Linked DNA regions of Homo sapiens: region 1 is linked to region 2. Evidence: promoter capture Hi-C in human tissues and cell types (Jung and others, 2019). All regions are on one chromosome and are shown on one strand. The core of a region is centred on a gene start or on the middle of the fragment in contact, and the rest is flanking DNA. Distances in the headings are between cores, read along the strand shown.

The links. The method cuts DNA at HindIII sites, captures the fragments that hold promoters and counts their contacts. A contact is called where the count stands out against the background at its distance.
Region 1: a contact is called between a fragment that was not itself captured here and the fragment with the promoter of GNB1 in region 2, in 1 of the 25 tissues and cell types used here (heart right ventricle).

Annotation. Positions count from the first base shown.
Region 1 is chr1:2,396,977-2,400,067 of GRCh38, reverse strand. RER1 (retention in endoplasmic reticulum sorting receptor 1) reads right to left here. Exons shown (of 7, transcript NM_007033.5): 3 at 2,848-2,952; 4 at 554-653. Among named protein-coding and RNA genes, the nearest start is that of RER1, 6.7 kb to the right of the region's middle. The HindIII fragment of the contact is 8,492 bases long and covers 1-3,091 here.
Region 2 is chr1:1,889,511-1,892,887 of GRCh38, reverse strand. It overlaps GNB1 (G protein subunit beta 1), which reads left to right and starts at 1,801. Exons shown (of 12, transcript NM_002074.5): 1 at 1,801-2,068. It overlaps GNB1-DT (GNB1 divergent transcript), which reads right to left and starts at 1,708. Exons shown (of 2, transcript NR_168264.1): 1 at 1,505-1,708; 2 at 162-988. RefSeq lists silencers at 1,017-1,266, 1,327-1,426, 1,547-1,736, 2,297-2,486. The HindIII fragment of the contact is 12,240 bases long and covers 1-3,377 here.

The DNA.
Region 1 (3,091 bases), core at 46-2,545, 510 kb before region 2:
GGAGCTGCGTAAGTCTTCCAATAGTGGAGCACGAAGCACCAGGAACACTTCAGCTCACAGCTCCTCAGAAACCAGAGAAGGCCGCCCAAAGCCTGACCCGACCCGATGCTGGCATTAGAGTCCCGGCGGTCTCTGTGCACCACAGTGAGCTGCCTGTGGAACCCTCTGGCTACGGGAAAAGGTAACCTCGTCATGGCTGCCTCCGCTGATTCTGAGAGGGACCACTGACTGGGGTGGGACGGGGGCTGGAGTCGGACTGTCCACCTCAGACCCCTACTGTCTGTGGTGCCATGTGACCTCGAACACGTTACCTAACCCTGTATGCCTCAGTTTCCTCATCTGCAAAGTGGGAAAACAGAATGAACACCCACTTCGTGGCTGTCAGGAGGGTTTGAAGAGTCATTCTACAAACATATCCTGATCACCCAACATTACAAGTACATTTCAACCCCAAGAGAAGAGTCTCGGGTGTTTCCAGAGAACACTGGGCAATCCCATCAGAAAAGAAAGGCCCAACCTGCCCACACAGCCCAGTGCACAGCCGCTACCCTACCTGAGTCTTCCATTAAGGAAGGATCCACTTTGGGAGAAAGAAAAGCTATGAAAAGATTTAGATGGTAGATCCCCAAGGCATAGGTCACAATGTACCAACCCTGAAAGAGAAGGAAAGAGAGTCAGTGGTGCACTCTGACCGTCCATCAGCCTGAGCCAGTTCACGTTTGCACTCCGGTTCACTCTCAACTTTGTTAACTGATCTAACTTTGTTTTAACACAAAACTTACTCATAGCAAGGACAAGGAAATACAGTGAAATCCCATGGTAACAATTTATCTCAAATTATACTCTGTGGGAACAGAGACAAAGCGGACAAGCAAGGGCCCAAATGAGCAAAGCTCTTCAAGGGTCCAGTTAGACACATGTGATCCCTGAAGCCACAGACGCCCCACAAGGAGCGCAGCAGAAAAGGAGGCTTTTCTCAAGAAGCACATGCTCAAGCTACACCACAGGCTCGGGTGGCCCGGGCACCTGAGCGATGCTGGCCCAGAGCCCCACCCAGGAGCAGCTTCATCAGAAACAGAAGACAGACTCTCAACTGTGACTGGAGGCGTGCTGGCTGATGTTCCTCCAACAGACAATTCACATTGCCAAAAACACTCTGCCAGGAGGGTTAAACCTTTGCCCAGAAGAAATCCACAACTGGGAAATCCAGAAAAGTGTGCTTATGCCAAGCCTTCCTCAAGAGATGAAAAGTGGGGAGAATTTTGGCAAGATGCCTGAGTGCAGCACACTTATTTGCAACTAATTCATTTTTTAAAATGATTAAGCATATCCCGTTAAAAGCCAGAACCGCATTCTCAATTTCAAAAGCCTTAAATTTCTGTCGGGTGTGGTGGCTCACGCCTGCAATCCCAGCACTTTGGGAGGCCAAGGCGGGTGGATCACCTGAGGTCAGGAGTTCAAGACCAGCCTGGCCAACATGGTGAAACCTCGTCTCTACTAAAAATACAAAAATTAGCCAGGCATGGTGGCACATGCCTGTGATCCCAGCTGCTCGGGAAGCTGAAGTAAGAGAATCACTTGAACCCAGGAGGTGGAGGTTGCAGTGAGCCAAGATCAGGCCACTGCACTCCAGCCTGGGCGACAGAGTGAGACCCCATCTCAAAACAATAAATAAAAATATAAATGCTTTAACTTTCTTATACAAACAAGAAGTCTTTCTGCCTAAAAGCTTTTCCAGTCAGACGGCTGAACGCCAGATGTGAGGGCTAACTGATGTCTGTGTGTCCATCCCTGGCTGAACGCCGGATGTGAGGGCTAACTGATGTCTGTGTGTCCATCCTCGGCTGAACGCCGGATGTGAGGGCTAACTGATGTCTGTGTGTCCATCCTCGGCTGCAGGGCCACACCTGAAGAGACGCCAAATGAGGCACGAGCTTGGTTTCGAACGCAATAAAACTGACCTGTGGGTGCTGCACTCTTCCCGCCCCCTGCTCCTGCCTGAAGTCCCTGATTCAAGATTTCTAGGTCATTCTTTCCATCAGAGAATGGACCCAGTTCCAATTTAAAAACAAAAATAAATAAATAAATTAAGGTGTGTGCTTTAAACAAGGAAGTATCTTCTACAGTCCCCAGAGGAGAAAATAGCCCAGACAAGGCTTTCAACATGCCCTGCTCTGCACATAAGATTATGTAACCTCCTCTAAAGACCGACGAAGAATTCCCATCTTACAGGTTTGCTCCTAGAAACCCCGTGTTTACCAGCAAGTAAAGGAGCACCCAGGTGAAGTCTGAGACGACATCACCTGACCTAGGGGTGCCCGAAAACACACGAAGGAAACCCTCAAGACCCCCTTCGGTCACTGTCTCTCTTACTTGACTCGGCGTCTCAACCTGCACTGTGCTTTGGCCTCACACAAGGGAGAGCTCAGGAAAAGCTACATAAACCCTTTGGACGCCGAGTCATTCATGACACCCAAGGCATGGACTCTTCACCCAAGGAATGAGGCAGCCACAGAGCGCAACCTTGTCCTGAGCATCATGCAGCAGGGTCGGAGGGACACCAGCGGCTCCACTGTCCAGGCCTGGACGTGCCCAGGGCAGGGCCAGGCTGGGCTCAGGACGGCCTGGGTATACTGAGAAGCCTGGCGAGGCGACTCCGGGTGAATCATAAACAACCCTGTTCGTTAAAGACAGTCACTGAGATCTTTCTGACATTTGGCGTTTAGCTGAAAATTGATTACTAGAGACCACTTCCTGCAAGACAGACTGGATCAACAACATCCCCACAAACATCACGCCCAGGTAACGTGGACAGAGCCAAGTCTCGTCACTTCAGCCCACACCTACCTGCAGCAGGTAAACTCGAATCATGTAGACAAAGCTCAGGCCCAGTGTCACGACCCATCGCACAGCCGTGTAGGGTGTGGACTTGTCTAGCCAGGACTGATAAATCTAGAAAGACAAGAGTCCAAAAGCATGAAGCAGGTCCTGTAACTTCTGTACTGACCCTGCCACAAAATGTACCTTCTGCTAGGGTTGGCTTTCAATTTTTAAAACAGCTAAAAGAGTGAGTTAAAATAGCAAGAGATCA
Region 2 (3,377 bases), core at 552-3,051:
GGGTGGAAGCAAGGATGAGAGACTGGTTACACAGGAGATAATCAGAGCCAGGTTCCTCACTCCCAAAGCAGGAGGCCCCTCATTCCGAACAGGTTGAGCCCTGTAGTGTTGGCCTGGCATCAGAGTAAACACGTGGTGCCCAAGAAAAACAGACAAACACGCCCATGAAACTGTGTGTATACATATGCGTGTGGGCATGTACATAGATGTGTTCCCTTGCTCCGCCAGCTGCAATGACACCCCAGTAGCAATGAGCACATCCGGAGCCAGATCCCGGGCTCTGCATGACATTCTCCCACAATGAACCAGGCTGCAGCAGAAATAGCTGGGTTCAGGCTGGGGCAGGGAGAATACAACAGGGCCCTGGAGCATCTCGTGCCAGAAAGAAAGGGCTCCAGAAATGATGCGGACAGGTGAAGTGGGAGGGAGAGAGAAGGGTGGCAAGGCGTGGGTTCCCTGTCTGGTGGAGGCTCCCCTAGGTAGGGGGAAGCGCGTGGCACGGAGGGCAGGTGGCGGACGCATCTGGAAGCCGCACTTACTGTGTGTCCACTTTCTCACACAAGCACCATGCACACAAAACAAGAAGGAAAACGTCAGCTGAGAGAGGCGGGTGGTGTCCCAGGGTGTGGAGAGAGTAGAAGGTGGGAAATAGGTGTTGGAGGTGGCATGGCCCCTTGAGGTTGTGGCCCTGGTTGAGGGGAGGCCCAGTGGATGAGGTTGGGTCTCTCTCCCCTTCAGCTGTGCTGGTGCAGGCCTGGAGGAAAACGGACGCCAGGTTTGGTGTGGAAGGGGAGCTCGGAGGCGATGAAGGCCCAGGCAGGTGGAAGGTGGTGGTTGAGGACCGGGGAGCAGGGCGCTGGCTGGGGAGAGGCAGAGTGAAGAAGCCGAGGGTGAGGGGCAGCCGGAACTCAGCTGGAAAGACAGCAGGAGGCGGTGGGCGCAGGGGCGGGTTCCATGGACGTTCTGGAGGCTTCTGAGGACACCAAGCCTGGAAGCCAGGACATGTGGCCTTCTTGACTTCGTTCCCCTTCCTCACCTGGAGGTCTCCAGTCCCCGCTGTCCACTGCTCAGCGGCATGGGAGGAGTCCGCGGCCTTACCCCGACACTCCCGCCCACCGGCCCCCGCCCCTGCCAGGCGGCCCTGCTCGCAGCAGCGCGAGGAGCCACGGGGTGCTGCCCTCCTCCGCAGCCCGAGGCCCACTTCACACGCACTGAGCCCAAGCGCGAGTCTCTGCCCGTCAGCCGCGTCTGAGCTCGCCGCAGTCCCTGCTTGAGAGGCCGGGGGGCACCTGCGCCTGCCCGGGACCCTGACCTGCTAGCGGGGCCTGTTGCCTCCTCTGCAGGAAGCGATCTCGCCCGCGGTGCCCCCACCCGCCCCGTCCCCGGAGGGACCGCCCCCGCCCGCGGCCTTCCCGCCCCTGCCCTGTCGCTTGAGTGCCCCCCGCCCGCCGTTACCCCACCCCCGCCCCTGGAGGAGCCCCCGCCCACGGTTACCCAACCTTACCCTGTCCCCGGAGGGCTCCACGCCCGCGTTCCCCCCGCCCCATCCCAACTCCGAGGGTCCACTGCCCCGGTCCCCATCCCGCCCGGTCCCCGCAGGGCCGGGCCGCCGGGGGTCTCCCGGGGCAGCGGTACCCGAAGGCAGCAGCACGGCCCCTTTAAGCCGCTCGGACACGCGCTCGGGGCCCGATGCGGTTTGGACGCGCACAGGCGTGCGCGTGCCCGTCGGGCCTGGCGAGCGCGCGCGACGCGCGGCGTGCGTGGTGACGCGAGCGCGTGGGGTTTTCCGAGGCTGCGGGCAGGGGCCCGCCGCGCCCATCCCGATGGCTGGAGGCGTCTGAGGGGCGGACGGAGGCGGCGGCGGCGGCGGCGGGAGCGGGAGCGGGCGGCGAGTGGGGAGCGGGGCCGGGAGTGGAGCAGCCGCCGCGGCGGGACTGGACCGAGCCTCGCCGGCGCGCACCTGCCCGCAGCGCCCGCGGAGCGCGCAGCGCGGCCCGAGCGCGACGACCTGCCGAGCGGCGGCCGAGGCGGCGGTGTGGGCGCGTCAGGCCGCGACGAGGGCGCTGAGGTGAGCGCGGCAGCCCCCAGCCCCGGACCCGGGTCCTGTTCGTCCACCCGCCCGCCCTGGGGGCGCCCGCCCCGCCCCCACCCCACCCGCCGGTCGGGGCCGCGTCTTCCTGCCCCGCCCGGGTGCGGCGGGCGGCGTCCGAAGGGGGGGCCGGGGGCTGGGGTCCGAGGTTCGGGGTGCAGGGTCGGGGTCGAGGGCGGGGTCTAGGGAGAGGAGCCGGGGTCCCAGGCCCAAGGCTGGGGGCCGAGTTTCGGCACCGGGGTGCGGGGTTGTGTGCGCCGCGGGCGCTTCCCGTGGCGGCGGCCGGGGCCCCGGGGGCGCGGGTCGGGCGGGGCCGGGCCCTGCGTGGGGAGCCGGACGTGGCTCTCGGGCCCGCGGCGCGAGAACAAAGGCCGGGCGGGCCTGCAGGCGGGGCGGTGTCGGCGGCCGGAGCCCCCGCGCGGGCCGCCTATCGGGGTGACTTTGAGGGCCGGGCGGCCGCGGGGCGCGAGCGTGGGGAAGGGGAACAATGAAATGGGGAAGCCGGGCCGCGCGCCGCGGTCGGAGTAGGGATTTAAAGCGGAAGCCGGGCGCGGCGTCGGGAAATGGGAAAATAACGGTTTCGGCCCTTTTCGCTGTGTCGAGCCGCTGAGGCAGTCGCGCTGTGGCCTCGCCCTTCTCCTGCCGAGGCCCGGGTCTGTCCGGCGCTGGCGCCCCGCGCGTGTCGACTCGAGGGTTGCGCGGACCCCGGCCCGGCCCCGCGAATGAATGGGCCCGGTGGCCGCGCCAAGATGGCGCTCCCACCGCTGCCTTTGTGGGGCGGCCGCCGCCGCGCCGAGTTTCGGGGCCCGGTTTGCGATATTCCGAAGGCCCGAAGGTGGGGGAGAGGACAGGAAATAGCACAAAGGCTGGGTGTCTTCCTCTTGCCTGGATCGGCTTTTCGGCTGGAAGCGGGGTGGGGGTGGGGAGTGGGGAGATCTGTTGAAAATTCCACAGGGCTGTCGGCTGAGGCTTTTGACTTTTAAGAACCTGCTATATTTTTTCTTGTGAATCGATAGTTGATTCAAATGATATTTTAACATTTCTTGTGTCCGTTAAATTACATGGTTAGCATGCAGAAGCAGTATCAGCTTTTGTTTGCTTAATTCATCTTCATGGAAGCCTTTTTTTTTTTTTTTTTTAAGAGATGGGATCTCTTTGTAAAAGAGATCCTGTTAACCAGGCTGGTCTCGAACTCTGGGGCTCAAGCGATCCTCCCGCCTCAGCCTCCCAAAGTGCTGGGATTAGCGGCCTTAGCCACCGTGCCCAGCCTGTCTTCATGGAAGCTTTT